7 separate regions of the Homo sapiens genome follow, and regions 1, 2, 3, 4, 5 and 6 are each linked to region 7. Evidence: promoter capture Hi-C in 16 types of primary human blood cells and fetal thymus (Javierre and others, 2016). All regions are on one chromosome and are shown on one strand. Each heading gives the region's core, a stretch centred on a gene start or on the middle of the fragment in contact. The rest is flanking DNA. Distances are from core to core; before and after follow the strand shown. Region 1 holds the start of NR1D2 (nuclear receptor subfamily 1 group D member 2). Region 2 overlaps HACL1 (2-hydroxyacyl-CoA lyase 1). Region 3 overlaps NR1D2 (nuclear receptor subfamily 1 group D member 2). Region 4 has its middle 3.2 kb from the start of CAPN7. Region 5 holds the start of OXNAD1 (oxidoreductase NAD binding domain containing 1). Region 6 overlaps LOC107986064 (a long non-coding RNA gene). Region 7 holds the start of SGO1 (shugoshin 1).

Region 1 (2,700 bases), core at 151-2,650, 3.8 Mb before region 7:
CTTACATATGGTGTTGGAGTCACCTATGATCACCTGAGTCATCCTGACCATACGTGAGCTGCACGCTCAGCTGCGGGTGTGACCCGTTTACTGGAAAACTCCAGCCCGAAGGGATCTGGAAGCAGTTTTTAAGACTGTGTGTGTATGAGACAGGTCGCGTCCTAGAGCAAACGGTTTTTTTTGTAAACAGACGGCATCCTAACAGGGGCGGTGCTACCCAGTCTGCGGGGAGTCGCTCGGGATCGAAGCACCTCAGAGCTCCTTCGAGCGTATCCCTTCGGGAAAGCCCCACGCCTTCCCCGAGGCGCCTCCTCCGGCCTGCAGCACGCCCTCGTCCTGCACTTCCTCCTCGGAATCTGCAAGGTATGCAGCTACCAGCCTCCCCAGGCGCCGGTTCGTTTGGTTTGCGCGGGGTCCGCGCCTTGGGGTCACCTCGCGAAAAGAGCGTGCGGCGTCCGGTGCACTGCGGTGTCAGCGCCCGCTTCGGGGACGCCCCGCCGCGGGGGCTCAGCGGGCGCGCACGCGCGGCCTCCTCCGCAGTGTGCAACCCCGCGGGGGAGGAGGGAATCGCGGCGACGTCACTGCCCCGAGGCTTCCAAAGGGGCGGAGCCTCCCGGGAGGCTGCGGCGCTCCCAGCCAGCGCGCGCGCGCGCGCCCCCGCCCCCACGTGTCCCTGCGGCCCCGGGGAATGTGGGTCAGGGAGCCGAGCGGCCTCACGTGTCCCCGCCCGCCGCCGCCGCCTCAGCGCCCATTATGTAATGCCGCGTCACGCGCCCGCCCAGCCAACCGGCGCCCGCGCGCCGCCGAACGTAAACACAGCGCGCACGTGGCTCGCGCGGCCGGGCCATGTGAGGGGGGGGCCGGGCCGGGCGCCGGCAGGCCGCGCTGCGGCTTTGCAGGGAGACAAGAGGGCGGGCGCCGGGCGGCCCGGGGGGCGATGGGAACCGAGCCAGAGGCGGACACGCGGCGCGCAGCAGCCCACCCCGCCCCACCGGCCATGGGGACACCCCCTGCCGCCGCCCCCCAAAGTGCCCCGCGGGCTCTGAGCGCTCCCTCCGGCCATCCCCCACCCGCCGCAGTCCGGTTCTTACCTGCATTCACCTCCATGGTGCCCTCGCGGAGGCGGCCGGGGCCGCCCGCTTCCCGCAGAGGGGGCAGCGCCGCCGCCGCCGCCTCAGCGCCGCGCCGCCCCGGGCTGGAAGCAGCGGTGGTCGCGGGGCCCCCTCATGGGCAGAGCGGGCGGGGCTCCCGGGCCCCAGGCCGTGCAGCGCACAGCAGGCTGCAGCGAGAGAGGGTGGCGGCGGCCGGCGAGCGGCGCTCCTCGCTGGGTCCCTGACAACAAAAGCGGCGGCGCGGCGGCTTCCTGCAGCCAGCGCACCGCGGCGGCGAGGGCGGCTGACGGGGAGGGCAGCCGCGACCATGTGACCCGCGCACACACCCCCTCCCTCCGCCCGCCCTCGGCCGGCCGCTGCGGCGACCTCCGCCCCGCCGCTCCCCTCCCTCCCGCCCGCTTCCCGGCTCCCCGGCTACCCTTTTCTCCTGCGCTTCCCCCTTCTCCCCTTCCTTCTCCTTGCCGAGCCCCTCCTCTTCCTTCGTTTTTCCCCTCCGTGCCGTAAACCTCTTCTCCGTTTCCCTCCGCCGCATATTCCTCCCCTCCTCCTCCTCTTTCCTCTCCTCCCGGCTGCCTTTCCCGCCTCTGGCCGGGAGTCCTCTCCACGCCCTGCCCCCCAACCTGGTGGCTCTTAGGTCAAAGCGGTGGCTTGGCGCCGAGCAAGGGTGATTCTCAGGACCCCGGCTGGGCCGGCTGGTTCGGGCTTGCTCAACCCTTGCGCCCCCCACCCCCACCCCCCGCTCCCACCCGACCGACCTCCAAACGCTGGTCTCTGAGGGCACAGACCCTTCCCTTTCCCTCTGCACCCTCTAGGTGATTTTATCCAATCTCATAGCTTAAGTAGACCTATGTTCTTGTGATTCCCAGATTTATATTTCAAGCCAAGACCTCTCTTCTAATCTCCAGATTCCTACATCCAGCAGCCCGTTTGATTATGCCGCTTTTTTGCATCTCAGATTTTAGACGGGTGTACGCGTGTGTCCGAACTCAGCTAATGTGCAGTCAAGATCTGGGCGTTTCACCTTGAATGTAAATTTTAGATCAAAAGAAAAAAGCTAGACATAAATTGTATGCGTGCTGAGGTGAATTCTGAGGAAAGTGCATTGATGCCCGCAATTTAAACGCATTACTGAAGTAAGATGGGCTGATAGAGGCATGAATAGATGATATGGTAAGATGTTAAACTTAGGCGATGGGGATATGGGTGTTGCTTGTAAAACTCTTTCCAGTTTGCTCTGAAATTCTTCACTATAGAAGGTGGGGAAAATGTCACGTGGAAGACATATTTACATGTGCAACACCCTATTTCCCCACCCCCCAGGTTTCTTCACCATATCAATATTTACTGTTTTGGTAAATCTGCAAGTTCCTGAAGCCAGCAAAATTATGTTTCTCTCCTAACACTCTCACAGCCTTTTATTCTCCATTCAATCCATTAGCAAGTCTGAGCTATTCTACCTTCAAAATATGTTCAATCCCTGTTTCTCACCGTTGGTATTGCTAGAGCAAACCATTATCTCTTGCCTCAGCTACTGCTCTGGTTCCCTAACTAGGAGAGTGCTTCTTGGGTCCTCCTACAGTCACTTCTC
Region 2 (2,700 bases), core at 56-2,555, 4.6 Mb after region 7:
GTGCATGTTTGTAATGCCAGCTGCTCGGGAAGCTGAGGCAGGAGAATTGCTTGAACCTGGGAGGTGGAGGTTGCCGTGAGCCAATATTGCATCATTGCACTCCAGCCTGGGCAACAAGAGCGAAACTCCGAAACTCTGTCTCAAAAAAAAAAAACAAAACAAAACAAAATAAAACAAAACAAAACAGTTACCTCTCAACTTTTGACATTTCCTACCAGAGGAATATACTTTTTGTTACGTGTTGTTGTATATTTTGCATTGCCTAGCAACATTTCTTACCTAGCTATCATAAGTGGGCAATTCTTTTGGGTGTCTAAATAAAGTGTTCTTATTGCAGCAGGTATTTACATGCCTGCATTTCTTAGGAGTTGTCTTATTCTCCTAATGTGAATTTGGCCTTATGTGCAAAAGGAAAGAGAGATGGGGCCAGTAGAGAATAGCGACACAGGAAAAGAGCAGAGTCTTTGTGCAGGTTCTCAGTGGGTGTATGATAGTAGAGCCAGTTAAGATTATGATCCATAAACATTTCCTTTTTTTTTTTTTCCACATTTATGTCGTTAATGTGGAGTTCTTTAAGACAGTATACTACTTCATTTAAAGCTGAATGAAGGCTAGGAAATACGCAATTCATTATTATTTCTAAAGAAATGAGAAGAAATAATACTGGGAAAAAAATGATGTCCCAGACTAAGAAGAATTTGAGAGAGCACTCAGCATTTTCCCAGGTTATCTTGTGTGCATTTAATTTAGTGCCCCCTCTCTTCCTGATTATGAGCTGAAGTAGAGTTACAAGGTAAAAACTATCCATATGCAGGCCATAAAGGAAATCTCAATAAATCGCCAAGGATTGAAAGCGTGCAGTATATGTCACCTGACCATGTGGAAGTAAAGTGGAACTCAATAAGAGATCACTAAAAAGAATCTCAGACCTTTGGAAATTAAGCAACATACTTTTTGGTATTTTGTAAATATTTGAAAAGATTAACAAAATGAATAAACTTCAAGATAGACTGATTGAGAATAAAAGAGAAAACAGATTACCAATGTCAGGAATGAAAAAGGAGGTATCACTACAGATCCTAATTAACCAATGGGTTGAAGAAGAAATCACAATGGAAAGTAGAAAATATTTTGAATAGAATGATAATGAAAAGATGCAACTCAAACTTGTAACCTATAACTAAAGCAGTTCTTGGAATCATTTTAAACAAATTATTAGTAAAGAAAATTAAAAACCAGTGTTCTAAATTTGTATTTTAAGAAGCTAGAAAAAGAAAAGCAAATCAAATTCAAAATGACTGAAATAATAAATACAAGAACAGAAATCAATGAAATAGAAAACAAACAATAGAGAAAAACCAACAAAAATTTTCGAAGAACTAAAAAAATTTGTTCTTTGAAAAGATGGATAAATTTGATAAACCCCTCATGAGACTGATGAAGAATAAAAGAAAGAAAACAAATTACCAATATTGTTAATAAAAGAGGACATTCCTATTGATCCTGCAGATATTTAAGCAATTGTAAGAGGATGTTTTGAATAACATACATATGAACAAATTTCCTGAAAAACTAAAATTTAGATAACCATTATTTGAAATTTATGTGTAGAACATTTATTACTAAGGTTGGAAATATTTTAATTCTGCCTTTACCACTATGTTCTTGTCTATTATTTAATAGTAAGTTGCTGTCATAAATGTACTATAAGGATCCCAATATGCTCAAGTCCCAGTGTTGTTTTCTCGTAGGCTTGTTATGCTGCCTCCGCGATTGGATATCTGACAAGCAGGTAAACTAAAATTTGTTTCACTTCAATTACTTTAATATTTTGGGGTAGAACTATTACGTCTTTCAGCTGAAGGATGAGTTCATTTGGAAAGATTATAGAAAAATATATTAAATAACAAAGGATAAAAAACATTTAAAACTCTCTGAGGACCACATCAAAAGAATAATGATACCAGAAGTGTTTCAGAGTGGAACACATTGCCATTTTGTAGAGTGAATCACTGGTGATCAGATAGTGAGTTGATGTATGATACCTTGTCTTGGATCTCACAACTACCCCAGCACACTTAATACAAAAATGCTTGGTTCAAAATGTGACTGTTGAGAGCTGTTCCACACGTTCTGATTTTTTAGTGTGTATCCATGTTACCTAACTACCACCCCCTTTTTATTATTAAAAATTAATACATTTTTAAAATGTCCATTTTGGAAAACTTGGAAAATATAGAAAGCACAAAGAAGAAAATGAAAATCGACTAGGCACGGTGGGTCACGCCTGTAATCCCAGCACTTTGGGAGGCTGAGGCAGGTGGATCACCTGAGGTCAGGAGTTTGAGACCAGCTTGGCCAACATGGTGAAACACCATCTCTACTAAAAATACAAAAATCACCCTGGTGTGGTGGCATGCGTCTGTAATCCCAGCTACTCGGGAGGCTGAGGCAGGAGAATCGGCTTGAACCCAGGAGGCGGAGGTTGCAGTGAGCTGAGATTGCGCCACTGCACTCCAGCCTGGGTGATAGAGTGAGACTCCGTCTCAAAAAAAAAAAAAAAAAAAAAAAGGAAAAAAGATGAAGAAAATCACCTATGATCTCAGAACTGTTAAGAATTGGTCATTTTCTTCCAGTTTTTTCCCTTATCTATGTATTTTTTAAGCAGAATTTGGACTCTCACAGGAATGTGTATCATAC
Region 3 (2,700 bases), core at 82-2,581, 3.8 Mb before region 7:
TTAGCCAGACGTGGTGGCTTGCGCCTGTAGTCCCAGCTACTCAGGAGGCTGAGGCAGAAGAATCACTTGAACCGGGAGGCGGAGGTTGCAGTGAGCCGAGATCATACCACTGCACTCCAGCCTGGGTGACAGAGTGAGACTCCGTCTCGAAAAAAAAAAAAAGAAAAAAAAGTCACTGCCCATTTATTTCAAAAACAATGCTGTGATCACTGACTTCTACTTGTTCAATCAGGAAACAAGGACTGCAGATACAGGTGTGTCTTCTAAATGACGACTGCGTGAGGGAAAATAGGAAGCCAAGAAGTTATTAAAAAAAAAAAAAAAACACCAAAAAGATGATGAAACACACCTGTATATTCTATTAGTAAAATCAGCCTTTAAATTTTCACTAAATCCATACAAAATCTAGGAATGGGATGATTACAAAACCATAGAGAATATCATGAAATCAGAACCAAAATGCCCACAGATTTTTCCTTCATTAAGGCAGCCACTTGGCCAGGCGTGGTGACTCATGCCTGTAATCCCAGCACTTTGGGAGGCCGAGGTGGGTGAATCACTTGAGGCCAGGAATTCAAGACCAGCCTGGCCAACGTGGTGAAACCTGTCTCTACTGAAAATACAAAAATTAGCCAGGCATGGTGATGCATGCCTGTAATCCCAACTACTTGGGAGGTTGAGGCATGAGAATTGCTTGAACCCAAGAGGTGGAGGTTGCAATGAGCTGAGGTCGCGCCACCGCACTCCAGCCTGGGCAACAGAGCAAGAATGTCTCAAAAAAAAAAACAAAAAAGCAACGACTTAGCCTAACATAAGGTCCACAGAATCAAATAACTCCAAGTGACAACAAAAATTTTAATGAAGATTGAGGTAGAGTCAACTATTTTGAAAATGAAAAAGACGACTTTAATTACCTGTCAGTAGAAAATACCAAGCACTATCAAAGGACTTCATGGTTTAAACTGGAAATGGTGTGGTACTGCTGTTTTTGGTGAAATTTTGGCTGAATATGAACACTGTACTTTGATGTAGAATGTCGTATTTGATGGAAAAATAGAAAAGCTTCAATGATATGACCAACATTAAGTCATCTCATAAGATGAAGTCTGAGAAAATCCTTAGAAATTAGCCTATGAAATTAAAATACTCCTAAATTTATCAAACAATAAAACATCTATGTTCTATATCCAAAGACCTTCTTGCATAATAATGGTTAAAAAAAAAAAAAACCTCTTTCTATAGAAATCAAAGAATTTCTAACTATGGCAAGCGAAAAGTTCGGCCCTTTGAGAAAATCCCAAAGCTAGTAAGGTACTAATTAACCAGAATGCTTAAATTTTCAAAGGGATTTCCAAGAATTAAAGGACCAATTCTGCATGAATCATATTTTACATAAAATCCTAATCCCAATCTCAGATCAATCAAATCACATGCTTGTACCTAGCTGGGTGTGAAATTAGGTCATTCATCAGAAGATGTTTATTAAAATTATTTGACCTAAAATACTGTACAAAATTAAGTCTGTAAATTTCTTAGGTTTCCTGACACCATCCCCCCAAGTTAGCATATCTCCCGAATAAAAGAAAATTTTCAAAGCTTTCCCTGATACAATGTAAGCAAAAAATCGATTTCACTATACCAGATGCATTCTTCCTCCAGTGTTGCACAGGTAACTATTCTTGTTCTCATTCTGAGAAAATCCATCTATCGGAACTCTATCACATACTCTTTGAGTATAAGCATTGGAGAAGTTCATACAATGTCCATTTGCAATACAAATGGCATGACCATTTGGGTAATGCATTATATTCCTCCCTTTGAACTGTCCATTGAGATGCTGCTGGCTCTCACTACAGGGAAAATGGCTGCTAAGCCCATTGCCGCAATGATCATGATTTAAATTATATTGCTCCATGTTCTTGGGAATCCGTTCTCCTCTCTGGGGCTGCATGCTCTCAGCTGAGTTTTCTTGCTGCTCTTGATTATACATAAAGGTATCCTTGTGAGCTCTGGTCACCATGCCAATCACTTCTTCCTTTGCAAAATCAGAAGATGGAGGAGAAGAGCTTTTGATGTTTTCTTGCTCCAGTTGGGGCTTGGGTCGCAGCTGTTCCTGGGCTGGCAAGGCTGTCTGTTCATGATGTTCTACTAATGTGTCATTTTGCAAGTGACCACTGAACTGGCTGTTCATCATGGTCTTCATTGCACTTTGCATTTCAATTAGCATCCTCTGTTTTTCACGCTTAGGAATACGACCAAACCGAACAGCTATTGAAGAAAAAGATATTTAACGTCTATATTCTAAATAAGACCTGTTTTGTATAAAAGAATAACACAAAATTATCCAACAGTTATGGCCTCTAGTCATACATATAAAGAATGAGTCTACATGTCTCTGGTCCACATTTTTCTAAACTTGCTGGTCTTGATGCACCAAAGGAAGTAGGAGAGGGAGAGAAAATTTTCTATTTTCCCCCCACAACAAAGTTAAGGACATCTACCTCCTAGGTATTTTATAAGCAAAGTCTAAGAAAAGAAATAGGAAATTCGGATGGGTGCAGTAGCTCATGCTTCTAATCACAGCACTTTGGGAGGCTGAGGCAGGTGGACCACCTGAGGTCAGGAATTCGAAACCAGACTAGCCAATATGGTGAAACCCCGTCTCTACTAAAAAAACAAAAACTAGCCAGGTGTGATGGC
Region 4 (2,700 bases), core at 1-2,500, 5.0 Mb after region 7:
TGTATTCTGTGATCATCAATTATCCAAAAAACTCTGAGAACTTGGTGGTGGAGACTCACGACATGTGCCTTTGTGGAATGCCTGCCAGAATGTCCAGTACCACCTCCACCTTAGGCCAGCTCTGTGACAGTGGAATTTGTCCAATGTTAAGCACTCAGAGCTGCATAGTCAACATGTCGTCATCCTGCAGCTTGGGAGCCCTCCCCCACCGAGAGCTGAGACAGACATAGAGAGGGATGAGACCTGGAGACAGACATTGAGAGGGCACTGGTCTGCACACACCCCTGCTCAGGAAGCTCCTTGTTGGTTTTTTTTTTCCCTTTGGTTAAATGGCTATTGCTATTGACTGTTGAATTCCTTGGCCTGTCCTACAAATGTCAGAAACAGCAGAGCATAGTTTTGAAATTTAGACTTGCAGGGAGCTTATAATCTGCATATAATTACATATGGAATCTATTAAGATTATATTTAATTCTATATATTTTAAATATGTATATAAAATTAAGTTAGGATATGTGTGTATATAAAATTCTACTGTAGGTGAAAAAGATGTTATTACCCTTTTTAAAGCTGCCAACCAAATGATGGTAGTTTATTATTTCATTAAATACATATGCAAAATTCTGTTGGCCAGGCACTGGAGGTAAAGACAGCTCACACTGTGGTGAGCAAGACATTCAGCAGCCAACAGTTAAAAGCATCATTTAATAATTGCTAAAAGAGAGAAGGCAGAGGCTGGGAGGAGCACTACCTAAATCAGCTTGGGGAGTCTAACACAGTGTTCCAGAAGAAAGGTGGCTTGAGTTGAGTCCCAAAGGCAGAATAAGAGCAAAGCAGGAGAGGAAGAGATGGATGTTTCAGTCTCAACTAGAGGCAGGAGTGTTGAGGTCCGTGTATTTTGAGGATTGGGATTCACTGGGTGTGGCTGTGGGAAGAGATGGAAAATGAGACTTTAGAGCTGTGCTTCTCACATTTAGCTGCTTTGGAACCACCCAGGGATCTGATTATATATAGGTTTCTGGGCTCCATCCTAGAATGCCTGGGTCAGTAGGGTTGGGCAGGGCCTGGGAATCTGCATTTCTGCAGATTCTGACAAGTGATGCTGCTGGTGCAGAGACCACACTTTGAGAACCACTGCTCTAGATTTAGAAGGGAGTCACTGAAAGCTTAAGGCCCGTTCCCAGTCAAGTCTCTTGACCATGGCTTCATGGCCTTGAAATTCAGCACTCAGGGGAAGAGTGGATCATGCTAAGGACAGCAAAGACAGGGGTGAGTTAAATTCCCTCCCTGCAGTCCCATCTCTGCTGTGCTGGATCCCTGGCCTTGAAGCTTCCTTCCTTCTTAGTTTTTTCCCCTGTGACCCTCTAGGACACATGCTATGTTGCTGTTGGTCTTTGGTAGTTGCCCTCTCTCACAGTTGGGTGGGACAAGTCATCCTATTTACTACAGATCCTCACCAACTGTGCTGGGTTTATGCAGATTCCTGAGAGCACACTGTCACCTTGTGTTCATATGTGGCACTGCAGCTAGGTGTTACCTCATAGGGGCTTGTGGTCACAACTTTATCCTTTCAACAAACATTTCATTAAAATATCTACCATGGCCGGGTGTGGTGGCTCACACCTGTAATCTCAGCACTTTGGGAGGCCGAGGTGGGTGGATCACCCGAGGTCAGGAGTTCGAGACCAGCCTGGCCAACATGGCAAAACTTCATCTCTACTAAAAATACAAAAAATTAGCCAGGTATGGTGGCAGGTGCCTGTAATCCCAGCTACTTGGGAGGCTGAGGCAGGAGAATTGCTTGAACCAGGGAGGCATAGGTTATAATCCCAGCACTTTGGGAGGCTGAGGCAGGTGGATCACCTGAAGTCAGGAGTTCGAGACCAGCCTGGCCAACATAGTGAAACCTTGTCTCTACTAAAAACACAAAAAATTAGCCAAGCATTTTGGTGGGCGCCTGTAATCCCAGCTACTCAGGAGTCTGACACAGGAGAATCGCTTGAACCCAGGAGGCGGAGGTTGCAGTGAGCCGAGATCACGCCATTGCACTCCAGCCTGGGCAACAAGAGCGAAACTCCATCTAAAATAAATAAATAAATATCTACCATAATCCCTGAAGAGCACAATAATTTTCAAGTCCAGGGCTCTCTGGGGCTCTTTAGAGATAACAGCACCATCCCTGAGGCAAGGTATGGAGCAAATTTGAGAAGCAAATTTTAGGAAGAAGTGAGTTGGGGCAGTTACTACTAGCTCTAGACAGTTCAAGGGAACGTAGGTCCAATATATTTTTTTAAATCAAGAGAAGCCAGAAATTTAAATCTTGGTGTAAAAAATACTGACTTTTAAGTAAAAATAAAGTGAAATGTTTTCCCCCTTTTTTTTTTTTTGACAGAGTTTTCACTCTTGTTGCCCAGGCTGGAGTGCAATGGTGCAATCTCAGCTCACTGAAACCTCCGCCTCCTGGGTTCAAGCAGTTCTCCTGCCTCAGCCTCCCAAGTAGCTTGAATTACAGGCATGCGGCACCACGCCCGGCTAGTTTTTTGTATTTAGTAGAGATGGGGTTTCACCATGTTGGTCAGGCTCGTCTCGAACTGCTGACCTCAGGTGATCCACCCGCCTCGGCCTCCCAAAGTGCTGGGATTACAATTGTGAGCCACCACTCCTGGCCAGTGAAATGTTTTTCTAAGTACTAAGAGACAA
Region 5 (2,700 bases), core at 135-2,634, 3.9 Mb after region 7:
CGTCTAGCTCTGTCGCCCAGGCTGGAGTGCAGTGGCGTGATCTCAGCTCACTGCAATCTCTGCCTTCCAGGTTCAAGAGATTCTCCTGCCTCAGCCTCCTGAGTGGCTGGGATTACAGGCACACCACCACACCTGGCTAATTTGTGTATTTTTTAGTAAAGACGGGGCTTCATCATGTTGGTCAGGCTGGTCTCGTATTCCTGACCTCGTGATCCGCCCTTTTAGGAATAAATGTAAAGTTTAGTAGTCATTGTAATGTTTTCTTCAAAAGTGCACAGGGATATATTATGTATATGTGTTACGTAAATGTAAACTAAATGTTATATATCATTGCTGAACCAAGTAAAGCTCATAATTTCCGTGCAAAAGTGGAACATTACATCTAAAAAGGATCTTATATCATCTCTACTCCAATCCTTTCTTAGAAGAGGAAATAAGGCCCAAAGAATGTAAATATCCAGTTGCCAGAGGTAATCAACAACTCAAGATTCCGATCCCAGATCTTCTCTCGAAAGTGCTTTTTCACTACAATGCATTTCTTCTCTACTAAGATATTAAAATGCCTAGTAATTAAGTAAGACCCAATGTAATCGGTTTTACCAAAACAGGCACTAGCACTGCTTTCAAGACAAAAATGCCTTTTATCTGCATTTCGCTTCAAGGCATACATAGGCCTCACACTGATAAACCTGCCTACTGACACCATTTCTTTCACAACGAAAAAACTGGTACTCACATAAGTAATTTGTTCCTGGGCTTTGGAGACAGACAAGCTCTTCATTATTTCCCAGGTGTATGATTTTAGTCAAGATGCCCAACTCTCTGTACCTCAGTTTAAAGATTAATAAAATGGAATAACATGTAAACTCCTAGAGTTGACAATTCCACTTAGTGCAATAGCTGGCACATAACTTCCCAATAATAAAAGGTGATGTTATTACTATTACTAAAAATCATCGTCGTTAATAATGTTATAAGCCTGGCAAACAGAAGACTAGAACTCAATCCCTGCCTTCCAGGGCTTGGTCCTTTCAGCAACACAATTTAGGGTATTTTAAGGCGTCTGGGGTGAGGAAGAAGCGGAATGTACCTGCAGCCAGGAATTAACAAGCTGACCGTCGCCCTGGGCTCAAGGTCACTCGGTGAAGCGAAATTCTACGGGAACTGTTCGTCCGTCACCAGGAAGGGAGGTCGAGGAGGCTAAGCTGCTCTCGCCTCCCCACCCCGCCTTTCCCGAGGGCCGGGAGGCTGCTACCTAGCACCTGCTGCAGCCTTCAGCGGGCTATTTAAGGCGTTAAAGCAGACGATAAGAAGCAGGGAAACTTTCCCCGCTGGCACCTAGCTTGCAGACCCGGCCACGTTTAGTTGCAGGCGCCTGGAATACTCCGCGGTCCCAGACGTGACGTAGCAGCGCGGGCGAGCCCCACATTCTATTGGTCGCTGCCGCCCAATAGGAGGAGCGGTGCGCGACCCCGCTGAGCAAGCTTTCAGTCTTCCCAGTGTCTCCGCCCCTAGTTCAGCCATCTCCATGGTGACCGCTACCGGTTATCCATTTGGCCGCGCAGGGCGGAGTTGCGTCATTGCCTATGCGCCGGAAGGGCTAGTCCTTGCCCGGCGCGACCTGATGATGCCGAGCCCAGGCCGGTTCCGGCGAAGTTAAACCCTCGGAGCTGGCCTCGGACTGCTGGGGCGTTACCCCTTCGGCCACCCCCGCTGACCATGGCAGTGTTTCATGACGAGGTGGAAATCGAGGACTTCCAATATGACGAGGACTCGGAGACGTATTTCTATCCCTGCCCATGTGGAGATAACTTCTCCATCACCAAGGTAACTTCAGGGTCCCGCCCGGCGGTTCACCCAAGCAAGCGCAGTTTGGTTCCGCCCGTTCCTTCCATCATTGGGTAGCCTTTGCTGCGCTGTGTCACCCACGCCCTCTTTCCCGTTGCTGAATCTTCCTCCTCCCGCGTCCCCCCACCCCAACTAATGCCCTGAGCTCTCTCGGTAGGCACGCAGTTCTGGCCTTAGATTAGGTCAGGGAGAGGGTGGCGGAGAGCCTCTGTCTCTCTGCCCGATCCCTGCCTTAGGGTCCCAACCTGGGATATTTCTGTCGAGGAGGGGACTCGTTTTTTGTTTCCCAGGGCTTTTGGGGCGACCGAAGCTCGCCTGACCTTCCTAGGTGTTTCCCCTAAGTGACGCTTCTAGGGGAAAATGATGTCGGCATTTCTCGCTGAAGGCCCTGGGGTTCTCACCCACCTTGGGGGGAAGGCAAGCCACCAAGAGACTTGCATCTAGGGGTGGGATAGGTTTGGGGGAGGAGATGGCGAAGAGAAGCTATCCTGACCACATGGTATTTGATTTCGTTGTAGGAAGATTTGGAGAATGGGGAAGACGTGGCAACGTGTCCTAGCTGCTCTCTCATTATAAAAGTGATTTATGACAAAGTAAGGGATATAATTTTAAAACGGGGGAAGGGTATTGTAAGTCAGTGGCAAGGACTTAGATCAGCTTGTCAGTGATGAGTGCAGGAGAATGTTTCATTGTGCTAGGTAAAGTGCGGTATTTTTTTAGGCAGGTTTTAAACACCATTGATAAACAGCCGAATAGTAAATTAAAACGTTTAAAGTTCAGATTACGTAATTTATTTTAGCTTTAGAGATAAATCTAGCTTTAGTGAAAATTATTATTTATTAAATAGAAAGT
Region 6 (2,700 bases), core at 193-2,692, 4.3 Mb after region 7:
TGCATATTATGAAAAAATATGCATGGATTTTAATTTTTCCTTTTTTTTTCTTTTTGAGACAGAGTCTTGCTCCATTGTCCAGGCTGGAGTGCCATCTTGGCTCACTGCAACTTCTGCCTCCCAGGCTGAAGTGATTCTTGTGCCTCAGCCACCCAAATTATTGGTATTACAGGCACGCACCACCACATCTGGCTAATTTTTGTATTTTTAGTAGAAACAGGCTTTGGCCACATTGGCCAGGCTGGTCTCAAATTCCTGGGCTCAAGTGATCCACCTGTCTTGGCCTCCCAAAGTGCTGGGATTACAGCCATGAGCCACTGTGTCTCGCTGGATTTCAATTTTTTTTCACCAACATAAACTTATATTAACTTGTTATAATGTATCTGAACAGGATACAGTTTGCAGCACTAAGAAGGATAAGACGTCAGTTTGAAAAGAGCCCGTATCAGAACAACATGAATTCTGTTAAAATTGAGGCAAGAACAAACCTCAAGTTTATGGTGAAGCTTGGGTGGAAGAATGGTGAAATCATTGATGCTTTATGAATAGTTTATGGGGACAATGCCCCCTGCCCCCCAAAATAAGCAGTTTACAAATGGATAACTCATTTGAAGAAGGGACAAGACGATGTCAAACATAAAGCCCACAGTGGCAGACCATCCACATCAATTTGTGAGGAAAATATCTTGTTTGTATCCTAATTGAAGAAGACTGACGATTAACCGCACAAACAAGAGCCAACACCACAGACATCTCAATTGGTTAAGCTTACATAATTCTGACTGAAAAATTAAAGTTGAGCAAACTTTCAACTCAATGGGTGCCCAAACCATTGGGCCCAGATCAGTTTCAGGCAAGAGAAAGGCTGTCAATAGAAATTTTAAACAAGTAGGGTCAAGACCCTAAAACACTCGTACACTTCTTCAAAGAATTCTAACAGATGAAACATGGCCTTACTATTATGATCCTGAAGACAAAGCACAATCAAAGCAATGGCTACCAACAGGTGGAAGGGTCCAGCCAAAGCAAAAGCAAATCAGTCAAGAACAAAGGTCTTGGCAACAGTCTTTTGGGATGTTCAAGAGATTTTGCTTGACTTTCTGGAGGGACAATGAATGATAACATCTGCTTATTATGAAAGTATTTTTGAGAAAGTTAGTAAAAGCTTTAGCAGGAAAATGTTCAATAAAGCTTCACTAGAGAGTCCTTCTCCAACATAATGCTCCTGCTCATTCCTCTCATCAAACAAAGGCAATTTTGTTAGGATTTTGATGGAAACCCGTTAGGCATCCACCTCATACTCCTAATTTGGCTCCTTCTGACTTATTTTTGTTTCCTAATCTTAACAATTCTTTAAAAGGCATGCATTTTTCTTCTGTTATTAACATTACATTATTACTGTAAAAAAGACTGCATTGACATGAATTCCCAGGACCCTCGGTTCTTTAAGGATGAACTAAATGGCTGGTATCATTGCTTATCATCTTGAACTTGACAAATCGTATGTTGAGAAATAAAGTTTATATTTCAATTTTAACCTTTAATTCTATTTCCCACAAACATTTGAAGTACCCTGTAATTGCTGTCATAATAATAATATAGTGTAATGGTCCTTCAGAGTTTTCCACAGCCTTTCATATCACTATCTTATCTGATGGTGTGAGATGAGTAGGCCAGGAAATGTTAAGCTTAGTTTTTTTATGAATGTTGAAACTGAGACACAGAGAAGTTAAATGGTGCTCATGGTGCAGAAGGGTGAGAACCCAGCTAGGTGTGAAGCATCATCTATAAGGAGAGCTCCATGCCTACTATAATGCAGATGGTACATCATAAAACATTTTCATTAATTACTGTTAATTAGAAAATTTCAAAAGAGTCCTGGAAAGTTTCATTAGCTTCAATCACAAAATCTATTAAAATGCATATTTAGTCCATAAATTCATACTCTCAAACACACTTACATTCTCCCAAAAAATCATCTTTGCCATGTTCCTAATCAGGTTCTCATTGTGTTTTTAAATTCTAGAAATTTAACCTAGAGGAGAGATTATTTGGTGGGAAGAGGAGGGCTATATTAATTCCTGGCTCAACATCCATAGTGCTTAACAGGCTTACTTATAAATGAGGGTAAATCCTAACACTCCTAGGCCAAGATAGAACACGACTGGATATGGCACATTGGTAATTATTTACAAAGCTAACTTGTAATCACAAAGTACTGTAGTAATATTATCACAACATCTTTGTTTTGGAGAACTCAAGTGCTTTCACGACATTAACTCATTCACCCTCACTGAACTGATAAGGAGGGGTTGGGTGACAAATAGTATCTCTATTTTATCTGCTGGAGTTGAAATAAAGGGTAAAGGAGCTACTGAAGAGAATGCAAAGCAAGAGCAGTTTGATTTCCTTTTTAGCCTCATTATGACGGTTAGATCACAGTTATGAGAATTCCTCCATTTTAAGTAGAAAATATCATGACGAGGGACATAATTTTAGGTAAGAAATTGTTTCAATGGAACCATAGCATGGATATCTCAAAGAATATTGGAAGGGTCGTACTATCAGTTAATCAGGTGTGTTTTTTTATCTTGCACTCTATTTTCTTTTTTTTTTTTTTTTTTGCGTGGCTAAATCTAAGTTTTTTGTTATAAGTGCAGCATTACAATAATCTGATAGTCCTGACGAAGATCTCCATTT
Region 7 (2,700 bases), core at 93-2,592:
GCTACCTTTAAAAAACAACAACACACCTTCATAAAGAATGCCTAGATTCAAAACATTTGTTTCGTTTTCATTTATTTGTTCCTTTATTGTCCCAGTGAATATTTACTACTTACTTCAAATTGCAACGAGATGCTGACAATTTAGCTATGAACAAAGCAGATGTAGTTCCTGCCCTTATTCAACTTCAAGAAACAGGCAATGAACGACAAGTCAGTGTCACAAGGAATACCAAGGGGAAAATGCAGGGCACTAAGAAAGTGTAAAGCAGACACTCAGGGGCTTTAGGGGTAGATAAGTCTTTCTGGAAGAATTCATCTGTACAGTGAAACTTCAGTATACATAGGAGTAAGTTCGGCCAAGGGAAAGAGTGTTCTTGACAGAACAGCATTGGCAAAAGTGGCAAGAATTTTAAGAAAATTAAAGAAAATGTACAAGTGATGGAACCAGGAATCATGGGGCTCTTTAAGGACAAAATATCTTAAAGGAGTTTGAAATTCACCTTAAATGCAATAGGGAGCCATTGTAAAGTTTCCTATTTGATACTTGTTTTGTAAAAATATTAATCTATGAAGAATATAGGGAGTGGAGTCTGCGGTCAGAGTGGGTACTAGTGCAATTTAGGGAATGAGATTAGGCTGGAAGCTGGATTGGGGGGAAAAAGATGGGCATGAGAGAAACTTGGAAAGCAGAGTTGAGAAGATCGTGTGACCGACTGGACGGGCAAAGGTTAAGAGAGGATAAATAATCATTAAGGACGATTTCTCAGGCTTCTAGTCGGTAACTGGATGGATGTTGGTGCCATTTCTCGAGAAGAGTTAAAGAGCCAGAGATAGCCGGCAAAGAGAAACATGGAGCTAGAATTTTCAGGTATCTGCAGTTTCCCTAATACCTTTTTAATCCAGAATTTGCTCCTTGTTTTGGTTTTAATTCCTCTAAAAGCTGCTTCCGTGTTGCAAGCTGGCTGACCGCTTTAACAGGCAACCAAAGAGATTCTTCTCACAAGAGGGAGGCTTTGAGCACAACCCGGGACATTTGAAGCTGTCAGACTGAAGAAACAGGAAGCTTTGAACTACCTATCACACTCGGCCTTAAAGGTTTCGGAGTAACTCCACCCGTAAAATCCCCACGACTCTGATTAGAAAGTCCCGGCGGGTCGCCGAGACCCGACCGCAGGCTCCGCCCCAGGGCCAGGTGGATGCCCGGATGTGGACTTGAGCGAATGTGCGTCACGTGACGTCGCCTGGCGGGGCGGGACTCTGCCTGCGACGGTGGTGTTGGGTGCATCCTGCGCCACGTGACCGCCTCCCAGCCAACCAATGGAGGAGCGAGGCGGAAAATTTCGAATGTGGCGGCGGTAGTTCCAGGCGACGGCGGACGGTGGTACGGTCCTGGAGGGCCCAGTGCGCGGGGCTAGCCGTGGCTGGAGAGCTTCGAAGAGCCTTGAAATGTGAGGAGGAGGAAGATAGCTGTTGCAGAAGTAGTGGCCAAGGTATCGTTCTGGACGCGCCTGCGGCAGGAGGGTCGCCGCGTCCACTTCCGCCAGCCCCACCTCCCCCCGGCCTTCCTGGAGTCCCTGAAAGAGGAAGAAGTAGGTTTTAAGGTGCGAAACAAGGGCGTAGTGATCCCTGTTTGACTTCCCTTCGGTTTTCAGTATCATTCTAAATTCGGTGGCCGAAAGCTCGGGCCGTGGAGTCCCACTCGCCGCGCTTTTCGCCGTTCAGCCACTCGATCTGCGCTTTCAGATGTTCCGGCTTCCATGGAGACCCTAATTTCCTACTTTGCAAAATTGTGTAGATTAAGTGATGTGCAAATAAAGCTTTTACAATAGCTAAAAGCCTGGCTCAACGTAAGGACACAAGAAAATTGACAGCAGTTCTTTGTGCAGCGTGATACCGTTGACGTCCTCCTTGTCCAGGCCATTCTCTTCCTCACTTACCCTGGAGAGGCCGGCACTGACTAGTATCCTACCTGGCTGTCTTCGCAGCAGGACTAATTGGAGAATTATGGACGGAGATCAAATATGCTAGGTTCTTTAAATCCAGAGCGCTTACACGAGTACTGTACAGATTGAGACCGTCATCTCGCGCTGTGGTCTGTCTTTGCTTTCATCCCTTCTGTCTACCACACCCCCTGCTAATAACCATCGCCTTATTTAGACAGGATATAAAACTTTTGATATGGCAAGTTTCTTTTGTGATTTTTAACTTGATTAAAAGTAATAACGAAAGCTTTTTAGGTAAGGCTTTGCCTTTAAAATACCTTAACTAAACTAGATCCGTTACTTAATCTGTATGACTCTCAAACATCTCCAATTCTAACTTAATTGTGTAAAACAACCCCTTTACCGTTCGTGCTTTTAAAAATAGCTACCCTATCTCTGCTAGGAACCTCCCAGTACATATTGTATATACCTTGGTAGAAAGAAAGTTCTTAAGTGGTATCTACAATACCTATATTTAAGATTCCAGACACTGCATAGAGGAAAATAAGGCCTGGAGGAAATACTCAAGATTAAGTGTAAGGTTTAGGAAAATATTTGACTATCGTAGAGGAGATGAAGATATCCTTTGTAGTGAAAATTCTGTGCATAGATTGTTATTGGAAACAAGTCTTTTTTTTTTGCAATTTTAAGATCTGCAAAGTGCAATCTAGCGTAAAAGATGTTTGTGAAAAGTGGTTTGACATGTTTAGTAGCATGCT

What was found. Contacts are between HindIII fragments. The CHiCAGO score rates a contact against its expected background, and 5 or more counts as called.
Region 1: the fragment with the promoter of NR1D2 here is called in contact with the fragment with the promoter of SGO1 in region 7 in 6 of 17 cell types (naive CD8 T cells, naive CD4 T cells, activated CD4 T cells and 3 more); the score reaches 10.5 in naive CD8 T cells.
Region 2: a contact is called between a fragment that was not itself captured here and the fragment with the promoter of SGO1 in region 7, in 1 of 17 cell types (fetal thymus). The highest score is 7.4, in fetal thymus.
Region 3: a fragment that was not itself captured here is called in contact with the fragment with the promoter of SGO1 in region 7 in 2 of 17 cell types (total CD4 T cells and naive CD8 T cells); the score reaches 9.1 in total CD4 T cells.
Region 4: a contact is called between a fragment that was not itself captured here and the fragment with the promoter of SGO1 in region 7, in 1 of 17 cell types (fetal thymus). The highest score is 7.7, in fetal thymus.
Region 5: the fragment with the promoter of OXNAD1 here is called in contact with the fragment with the promoter of SGO1 in region 7 in 4 of 17 cell types (fetal thymus, monocytes, total CD4 T cells and 1 more); the score reaches 14.3 in fetal thymus.
Region 6: a contact is called between a fragment that was not itself captured here and the fragment with the promoter of SGO1 in region 7, in 1 of 17 cell types (fetal thymus). The highest score is 6.5, in fetal thymus.

What each region holds. Positions count from the first base shown.
Region 1 is chr3:23,943,986-23,946,685 of GRCh38, reverse strand. NR1D2 (nuclear receptor subfamily 1 group D member 2) reads right to left here and starts at 1,400. Exons shown (of 8, transcript NM_005126.5): 1 at 1,092-1,400. The coding sequence starts at 1,107. LOC124909354 (a long non-coding RNA gene) reads left to right here and starts at 1,506. Exons shown (of 2, transcript XR_007095845.1): 1 at 1,506-2,700. It also overlaps a transcript of NKIRAS1 not described here. RefSeq lists silencers at 309-850, 347-1,536. The HindIII fragment of the contact is 14,696 bases long and covers 1-2,700 here.
Region 2 is chr3:15,595,476-15,598,175 of GRCh38, reverse strand. It overlaps HACL1 (2-hydroxyacyl-CoA lyase 1), which reads left to right. Exons shown (of 17, transcript NM_012260.4): 3 at 1,752-1,792. Among named protein-coding and RNA genes, the nearest start is that of HACL1, 4.7 kb to the left of the region's middle. The HindIII fragment of the contact is 4,835 bases long and covers 1-2,700 here.
Region 3 is chr3:23,961,545-23,964,244 of GRCh38, reverse strand. It overlaps NR1D2 (nuclear receptor subfamily 1 group D member 2), which reads right to left. Exons shown (of 8, transcript NM_005126.5): 5 at 1,640-2,268. Among named protein-coding and RNA genes, the nearest start is that of NR1D2, 18 kb to the right of the region's middle. The HindIII fragment of the contact is 534 bases long and covers 1,065-1,598 here.
Region 4 is chr3:15,201,668-15,204,367 of GRCh38, reverse strand. It overlaps the pseudogene COL6A4P1. Among named protein-coding and RNA genes, the nearest start is that of CAPN7, 3.2 kb to the left of the region's middle. RefSeq lists an enhancer at 1,552-1,601. The HindIII fragment of the contact is 163 bases long and covers 1,169-1,331 here.
Region 5 is chr3:16,263,896-16,266,595 of GRCh38, reverse strand. It overlaps OXNAD1 (oxidoreductase NAD binding domain containing 1), which reads right to left and starts at 1,384. Exons shown (of 9, transcript NM_138381.5): 1 at 1,091-1,384. DPH3 (diphthamide biosynthesis 3) reads left to right here and starts at 1,653. Exons shown (of 3, transcript NM_206831.3): 1 at 1,653-1,827; 2 at 2,367-2,441. The coding sequence starts at 1,720. RefSeq lists an enhancer at 1,512-1,821. The HindIII fragment of the contact is 2,642 bases long and covers 1-1,486 here.
Region 6 is chr3:15,860,960-15,863,659 of GRCh38, reverse strand. The region is part of intron 1 of LOC107986064 (a long non-coding RNA gene); the gene reads right to left. Among named protein-coding and RNA genes, the nearest start is that of MIR563, 11 kb to the left of the region's middle. The HindIII fragment of the contact is 497 bases long and covers 1,194-1,690 here.
Region 7 is chr3:20,184,848-20,187,547 of GRCh38, reverse strand. SGO1 (shugoshin 1) reads left to right here and starts at 1,342. Exons shown (of 8, transcript NM_001199251.3): 1 at 1,342-1,600. SGO1-AS1 (SGO1 antisense RNA 1) reads right to left here. Exons shown (of 4, transcript NR_132785.1): 4 at 1,433-1,573. RefSeq lists enhancers at 865-924, 945-1,624. The HindIII fragment of the contact is 754 bases long and covers 1,065-1,818 here.